Linked DNA regions of Homo sapiens: region 2 is linked to region 1. Evidence: promoter capture Hi-C in 16 types of primary human blood cells and fetal thymus (Javierre and others, 2016). All regions are on one chromosome and are shown on one strand. Each heading gives the region's core, a stretch centred on a gene start or on the middle of the fragment in contact. The rest is flanking DNA. Distances are from core to core; before and after follow the strand shown.

What was found. The method cuts DNA at HindIII sites, captures the fragments that hold promoters and counts their contacts. A CHiCAGO score of 5 or more calls a contact.
Region 2: a fragment that was not itself captured here is called in contact with the fragment with the promoter of SEPTIN3 in region 1 in 1 of 17 cell types (endothelial precursors); the score reaches 5.1 in endothelial precursors.

The regions. Positions count from the first base shown.
Region 1 is chr22:41,967,261-41,971,382 of GRCh38, forward strand. It overlaps SEPTIN3 (septin 3), which reads left to right and starts at 2,183. Exons shown (of 12, transcript NM_001363845.2): 1 at 2,183-2,417. The HindIII fragment of the contact is 14,934 bases long and covers 1-4,122 here.
Region 2 is chr22:42,092,378-42,096,499 of GRCh38, forward strand. The region is part of intron 3 of NDUFA6-DT (NDUFA6 divergent transcript); the gene reads left to right. Among named protein-coding and RNA genes, the nearest start is that of NDUFA6-DT, 3.5 kb to the left of the region's middle. The HindIII fragment of the contact is 4,764 bases long and covers 1-4,122 here.

The DNA.
Region 1 (4,122 bases), core at 933-3,432:
AAGAGGGATAGGGGCTGGGCACGGTGGCTCATGCCTGTAATCCCAGCACTTTGGGAGGCCGAGGCAGGCGGATCACAAGGACAGGAGATCAAGACCATCCTGGCTAACACTGCGAAACCCCATCTCTACTAAAAATACAAAAAATTTAGGTGGGCGTGGTGGCGGGTGCTTGTAGTCCCAGCTACTCGGGAGGCTGAGGCAGGAGAATGGTGTGATGGTGTGAACCCGAGAGGCGGAGCTTGCAGTGAGTCGAGATGGCGTCACTGCACTCCAGCCTGGGTGACAGAGCGAGACTCTGTCTCAAAAAAAAAAAAAAAAAAAGAAGAGGGATGGGTGCTAGGCCCACACAATCACCATTCAATCATTCATTCATTCATTATTTCTTTCTAAAGAAATTTACCGGTTGGGCACGGTGGCTCATGCATGTAATCTCAGCACTTTGGGAGGCTGAGGCAGATGCATTACTTGAGGTCAGAAGTTTGAGACCAGCCTGGCCAACATGGTGAAACCCCGTCTCTACTAAAAATACAAAAATTAGCCAGGCGTGGTGGCACACACCTGTAATCCCAGCTACTTGGGAGGCTGAGGCAGGAGAATCCTGAGGCTTGAACCCGGGAGGCGGAGTTGCAGTGAGCTGAGATCCCGCCACTGCAGTCCAGCCTGGGTGACAGAGTGAGACTCTCAAGAAAAAGAAACTTACTGAAGCCAATTTTTGCCAGACCCTGGGGCCCAGAGAAGAAGATCCAGGACCTTCATAACTGAGCTTTCCACCCAGGCATGGTGGCTCACGACCGTAATCCCAGCACTTTGGGAGGTGGAGGTAGGAGTATTGCTTGAGCTCAGAAGTTCGAGACCAGCCTGAGCTACATAGGGAGACCCCCGTCTCTACAAAAAATAAAAACTTAGCTGGGCGTGGTGGTGCATGCCTGTGGTCCCAGCTACTCTGGAGGCAGAAGTGGGAGGATCACTTGTGCCCAAGAGGCTGCAGTGAGCCATGATGGCGCCACTGTCTTCCAGCCTGGGCGACAGAGTGAAACCCTGTTCAAAAAAACTAATAACAACAACAGCAACAACAAACGAAACAGAGCTGAGCTAATATGGTAGCCACAGATTAAAATAAACTAAAAAATCCAGTTCCTTGGTCACTGTAGACACATTTTAAGTGATCGGTAGCCATCTGTGGCTAGTGGCTACTGTACTGGACAGCACAGACATAGAACATTTCCATTATCACTGAAAGTTGTATTGCCCAGCGCAGCTCCAGAAGCTCACTCGCTAAAGAGAGAGACACACAGGAGAGCAGACCAGACAACACAGTGTTGTGTGGGCTGCAATGTCCTCCTCGGTAAAAAGCAGGTGATGAGGCGGAGATTAAAGGAGATGCCAGGAGAATGCTTAGCCTAGTTCCTGACTCAGGGTGAGTGCTCGGAGGACATCTGCCATCACCGTACAGGACAGTACTATAGGATCTGTTTACATACCTATCTTCCTAGCAGACTGTGAGCTCCGCCCAGCCCTGGCATGGTGCCGGGCACAGAGCAAGTGCTCAGGAAATAGTAGCTGTTATCAGCACCATTGTTATTATCACCACTGCTATGACAGAGGCAGCCGAGGGCTGTGGGAACACAGAAGAGGGCTCCCATCCCAGCCCCAGGGCCAGGGGCTGCTGAGAGTCGGCATTGCCAGAGCCAGGCTGGGTGGCTTTGTGGTCCCCTCAGGGGCAGGCCTAGGGCGGGGTCCTCTTCACACCCTTAGGGTCTGGGTACAGGGTCCAGCTGGAGCAAGCTGGGGCTCAGGGAATAGTTGTGGAAGGAGCTCTAGCCTCCAGGAACTCCAGCCCCCTTGAGGAAAGACCAGGTGAGTGGGCAAGATGGTCTGAGGGTTGCAGAGCTGAACAGGGCATGAAGGGCACAGAGGCAGAGCCAGAGGGAGACTCGCGCTGGGACTACCAGAGTGCAGCCATATTTGGAGTACCCCTGTTTTTACTGCAGACTCCCCAGGCATCAAAGTCTGTGGGAGACAGAGCAGATTTGGGGAGGGCAGGCTGCAGGGAACCTCCCTGCAGGTGGCCGTGAGTGCCAGCCTGGCCGTTACCAGCCTCCCATGGCTCTTCAGGATTCCAGAGGCTCAGAGCAGCCATTCACAGCCGCCCACTCCTAGGAAGCCAGCCCCTCCCTGCACCAGAGCCCAGCCCAGCACGGTCTCCGGGGATGTAGCTGGTGGGACAGTGAGCAGAGGGCTGGGCCCTGTGCCTGGGGACTGTGGCCTGGAGGCTGAGCAGGAGCTGAGGAGGGGACCAGAGGGACAAGGCCCCTAAGCTGGCCACCATGGCCAGACTCTGAGTGCAGGGGAGGTGAGGGGCCTGCGTGTGCCTTATCTTCCCAGACACACTGGATCCTTCTTGTCCTCTGATCAAGGTAGGTGTGTAGGGGGGTGGAAGGGTGTGGGGGTTTGTGGGGGTGGGAGGGTGGTGGGGGTGGGGTGGGGAAGGACCAAGCAATCCATGGAAGATGGGAGTGCAGTGAGGGGATGGGGAGTCGGGTGATGCCCTCGGACACCCTGTCCTCTGGCCTGCTCTGTGTGTGGGTGTGCACACTGAGGGGAGCTGTTTGTGGCTAAGTGCAGGGTAAACGTGTGTGCCCAAGTGGATGTGGCTGTGCAGGAGGGGGCAGAAGTTCAGGGCTGCAGTGATAGGCCAGGTGGGAAAGGGTTGGAGGCCAGGACAGTCTTGGATACAAATATATGGCTGGAGAGGGATGAGGGGCTGGGGGCACCATTGTGAGGGGTGATGCCTTCCCTGTCCGGTGCCCTGCCTTCCCCGTCCCTGCTGCAGACCTCAAGGACCTGGCTACATGATCACTCCCCTCCCCATGAGCCCTCTGGAACTGACTCCTCCCACCAGCCCTGGCCTTGTCCCCCAGCTGCAGGTCCCAGCCTGCTGTGTTAAAAGCAACCAAACCAACTTTTTTCTAGAGGGTGAGTTACTTGGAGTCCAGAGTAGCAGGGAGTGGCCCATCTACTAAGACCACAGCCAGAGTCCTGAGCTTCATCCTCGACACCTCTTTGTGCCCACTCCCTACCCTGGGCAGTCCCGCCACTTCTACCCCTGTGCAATGCAGCCTCCTCCAGCCCCAGCCCTAGCTCTGCCCCTTGCACAGCCCACGGAGCAGAGAGTTTCAACTATGTCCTCATGGGATCCTGGCTTCAATTCTGTTCCCATCTGATCCCTCTGTCACACTGCCCGAGTGGCCGTTCCCACCTACAGATCGGAATGGGTCACATTCCCTGGCCTAAACTTTGCTGTAGCCTGGCCTGGACCCCAGCTCACCTGCAGCCTTGGCTCTCCCCTCCCTGCTACATACAGCCTAGGAGCCCCATGTTGGATTTTCAGAAAGATGCCACACTTTCTCACCTTTGGGCCTTCTGTAGGAACAGCCCCAGCTCAGGTCTAGCCTCCCGCCTTTCTACCCCTAATGCTTAGCTTGGTGGAGCCCTGCCTACTTCCTTGCCTGGCATCCCTGGGCATGGCAGCCTCTTCAAGGGCGGGGACCATGGCTTGTTCACCAGATAAGCTCCTTCTGTGAACACTCACTGCCTCTCCATTTCCCATCCTCACCTTCTCCAGGGCTGGCTCTGTTTCTGACTCCAGCACTAGGCCAGCTCAGGGCTCTTTCTTGGTTCTGGGGCTCTAAGCCAAATTGGTCCTCTCTCATCCTGCCACCTGGACACCTGAGCTCCTATGTTGGCTGCTGTGGGTGGGAACCCACAGCCCTTTGGTTCTTTCTGGAAGAGAAAGGGAGAGACGTCTCCAGTAAGCACTGCCCTCCTCTGGAGTCCCTGAACATGTATGTGACCTCCATAGAGCTGTCCACAGAGACAGGGGCCACACTCAGGCCCAGGCAAAGGGAGACGTAAGCCCAGCCTGAGATGCCCCATGCTGGAGGCAGACTGCTCACTGGACGTGCCCACCCCACTGTGTGGTGGCTGGCCGGGGTGGGGTAGGTATGAGGTACAGATCAGTCTGCAGCAGGTAGGAGCCGTAGGAGGACAGGAGGAAGTTACATGCATCCTCCACTAAGGACTGGACAGTCCCCAGAACCAGGCCCCTTCAGACCCGGCATG
Region 2 (4,122 bases), core at 690-3,189, 120 kb after region 1:
TGCCCCCGGCTGATATACTCATTTTATAGATGAGAAAACTGAGGCACAAAGAGACTAAGTTACTTTACAGCATTGGGGTTGAAGCCCAGGCAGCTGGTGCCAGAGTCAGTTTTCTGACTCTCGCAGCACCTATACCATGATATCTACCTGTATGATTCTAACCTTGTGTATACCCCTGCCTCCTTCAGAAGTACCCACTATCATGATAAATTCATTGTGTTCAACATTCAAAAAAAAAATGGGGCGCAGTGGCTCACTCCTGTAATCCCAACACTTTGGGAGGCCAAGGCAGGTGTATCACCTGATGTCAGGAGTTCGAGACCAGCCTGGCCAACATGGTGAAACCCCCGTCTCTACTAAAAATACAAAAATTAGCCGGCATGGTGGTGGGCACCTGTAATCTCAGCTACTCGGGAGGCTGAGGCAGGAGGATCGCTTGAGCCCGCGAGGTGGAGGTTGCGGTGAGCCAAGATTGCGCCGCTGGACTCCAGTCTGGGCGACAGAGTGAGACCCTGTCTCAAAAGGAAAAGAAAAAAAAGACCTCTAAACAACCCACAAACTGGGAGAAAATTTTTGCAAATCACATGTTCCATAAGGGACTTGTATCTAGGATACATAAAATTCTTACAACTCAGTAATGAAAAGACAAATAGCCAAGTTTAGAAATGGGCAAGGGAGACAACACCAAATGCTGGTGAGGATGTGAAGCAACAGGAACTCTCCTTACTGGTAGGAACGCAAAATGGTACAGCAGCTTTGGAAGACAGTTTGGCTTTCTGACAAAACTAAACATACTCCCATCAGAAGATCCAGCCATTGCATTCCTTAGTGTTTACCCAAATGAGCTGAAAACTTATGTCCACACAGAAACCTGCACATGGATGTTTACAGCAGCTTTTGTTTTTGTTTTTGTTTTTGAGATGGAGTCTCGCTCTGTCACCCAGGGTGGAGTGCAGTGGCGCGATCTCGGCTCACTGGAAGCTCTGCCTCCTGGGTTCACGCCATTCTCCTGCCTCAGCCTCCAAGTAGCTGGGACTACAGGCGCCTGCCACGAAGCCCAGCTAATTTTTTGTATTTTAAGTAGAGACGGGGTTTCACCATGTTAGCCAGGATGGTCTCGATCTCCTGACCTCGTGATCTGCCCGCCTTGGCCTCCCAAAGTTCTGGGACTACAGGCGTGAGCCACCGCTCCCGGCCAGCAGCAGCTTTATTTGTAATTGCCAAAACTTGAAAGCAACCAAGATGTCCTTTAGCAGGTAAATGGATAAATAAACCTTGGTATATCCAGACAATGGACTATATTCAGCACTAGAAAGAAATGAGCTATTAAGCCATGAAAAGGCATGGAGAAACCTTAAATGCATATTAGTAAGTGAAAGAAGACAATCTGAAAGAGCTACATACTGTATGATTCCAACTATATTACATCCTGGAAAAGGCAAAACTATGGAGACAATAAAAAAGATGGCAGGGGCTGGGAGTGGGGAGAAATGCACAGAGGTGGTGCACAGAGAATATTTAGGGTAGTGAAATTACTCTGGATGTTATAATGGTGGATACATGTTATTACACATTTGTCAAACCCTACAGGATGTACAACACCAAGAATGAAACCTAATGTAAACTATGGGATATGGGTGATACTGGTGTGTCAATGTAGCTTCATTGCTTATAACAAATATATCCTCTGGTGCCTGATGTTGTTGGTGGGGGGAGGCTATGAGTGTGTGTGGGGTGGGGGAACCCTGTATTTTCTGTTCAGTTTTGCTGTGAACTCGAAACTGCTCTTAAAGATGAAATTTTTATTTTAATGGGTAAAGTATTTGAATAACCATTTCTCCAAAGAGGATATACGGGTGACCAATAAGTACATGAAAAGACATTCAACATCATGAGCCATTAGGGAAATAAAAATCAAAACCCTCGTGAGATACCATTTCTCACCCAGTAGAATGGCTAGAGTGAAAAAGGCAGACACAGCCAGTCACGGTGGCTCACACCTGTAATCCCAGCATTTTGAGAGGCCAAGGCCAGTAGATCACTTGGGTTCAGGAGTTTGAGACCAGCCTGGCCAACGTGGTAAAACCTCCTCTCTACTAAAAATAGGAAAATTAGCTGGGCATGGTAGTGCATGCCTGTAATCCCAGCTACTAGGGAGGCTGAGGCAGGAGAATTGCTTGACCCGGGAGGTGGAGGTTGCAGTGAGCCCAGATCATGCCATTTCACTCCAGCTTGGGTGACAGAGCAAGACTCCATCTCAAAAAAAAAAAAAAAAAGACAAAAGATAGTGTTGGCAAGGATATAGAGAAATTAGAACTTTCTATACTTTGCTGGTGGGAATGTAAAATGGTGTAGCCATTTGGGAAAACAGTCTGGCAGTTTCTTAAACAGTTAAATATGGCCAGGAGTGGTGGTACTCACTTGTAAGAGGCCGAGGCAGAAGCATTGCTTGAGCTTAGGAGTTTGAGACCAGACTAGGCAAAATAATGAGACCGTATTTAAAAAAAAAAAAAAAAGTTAAACGTGGACTTACTATATGATCCAGCAATTCCAATCCTAGGTATTTACCCTGAAGAAATTTTTTTCCACACAAAGACTTGTATGCAAATGTTCATAGCAGCATTATTCACCATAGCCAAAAACTAAAAACACCCAAATGGCTATCTGTTGATAAGTGGATAAACAGAAGGTGGTCTGTCACCCAGGCATGGTGGCTCATTCCTATAATGTCAGGATTGCTTGAGGCCAGGAGTTTGAGAACAGCTTGGGCAACATAGTGAGACTGCATCTGTTGAGGGAAGTCAGGAACCCCGAACGGAGGGACCGGCTGAAGCCGTGGCAGAAGAACATAAATTGTGAAGATTTCACGGACATTTGTTAGTTCCCCAAATTAATACTTTTATAATTTCTTACACCTGTCTTTACTGCAGTCTCTGAACATAAATTGTGAAGATTTCATGGACACTTATCACTTCCCCAATCAATAGCCTTGTGATTTCCTATTCCTGTCTTTAATCTCTTAATCCCGTCATCTTCGTAAGCTGAGGAGGATGTATGTCGCCTCAGGACCCTGTGATGATTGCATTAACTGCACAAATTGTTTGTAGAGCATGTGTGTTTGAATAATATGAAATCTGGGCACCTTGAAAAAAGAACAGGATAACAGCAACGTTCAGGGAACAAGAGAGATAACCTTAAACTCTTGACTGCCAGTGAGCCGGGCGGAACAGAGCCATATTTCTCTTCTTTCAAAAGCAAATGGGAGAAATATCGCTGAATTCTTTTTCTCAGCAAGGAACGCCCCTGAGAAAGAGAATGCGTCCCTGAGGGTAGGCCTCTGAAATGGCCACTTGGGGGGTGGCTGTATTTTACAGTCACAGCTGTAGGGATGAAATAAGCCCCAGTCTCCTGTAGCGCTCCCAGGCTTATTAGGATGAGGAAATTCCCACCTAATAAATTTTGGTCAGACCGGTTGTCTGCTCTCAAACCCTGTCTCCTGATAAGATGTTATCAGTGACAATGCATGCCCAAAACTTCATTAGCAATTTTAATTTCGCCCCGGTCCTGTGGTCCTGTGAACTCGCCCTGCCTTCATTTACCTTGTGATATCTTATTACCTTGTGAAGCATGTGATCTCTGTGACCCACACCCTATTCGTACACTCTCTTCCCTTTTGAAATCGATAATAAAAACTTGCTGGTTTTATGGCTCAGGGGGCATCACGGAACCTGCTGACATGTGACGTCTCCCCCGGACACCCAGCTTTAAAATTTATCTCTTTTGTACTCTGTCCCTTTATTTCTCAGACCGGCCGACACTTAGGGAAAATAGAAAAGAACCTACGTGAAATATCAGGGGTGAATTTTGCCCGATAGCATCTCTACAAAAATTTGTTTAAAATAGCCAAGCATGGTGGTACGTGTCTATAGTCCCAGCTACTCGAGGGGCTGAGGTAGGAGGATTGCTTGAAGCCAGGAGTTCGAGGCTACCATAAACTATGATCCTACCACTGTACTCCAGCCTGGGTGACAAAAAAACAAACCTAAACAAAACACAAAATATGGTGATACGGTTTGGATATTTGTCCCTTCCAAATCTCGTCAAAATGTCATCCCCAGTGTT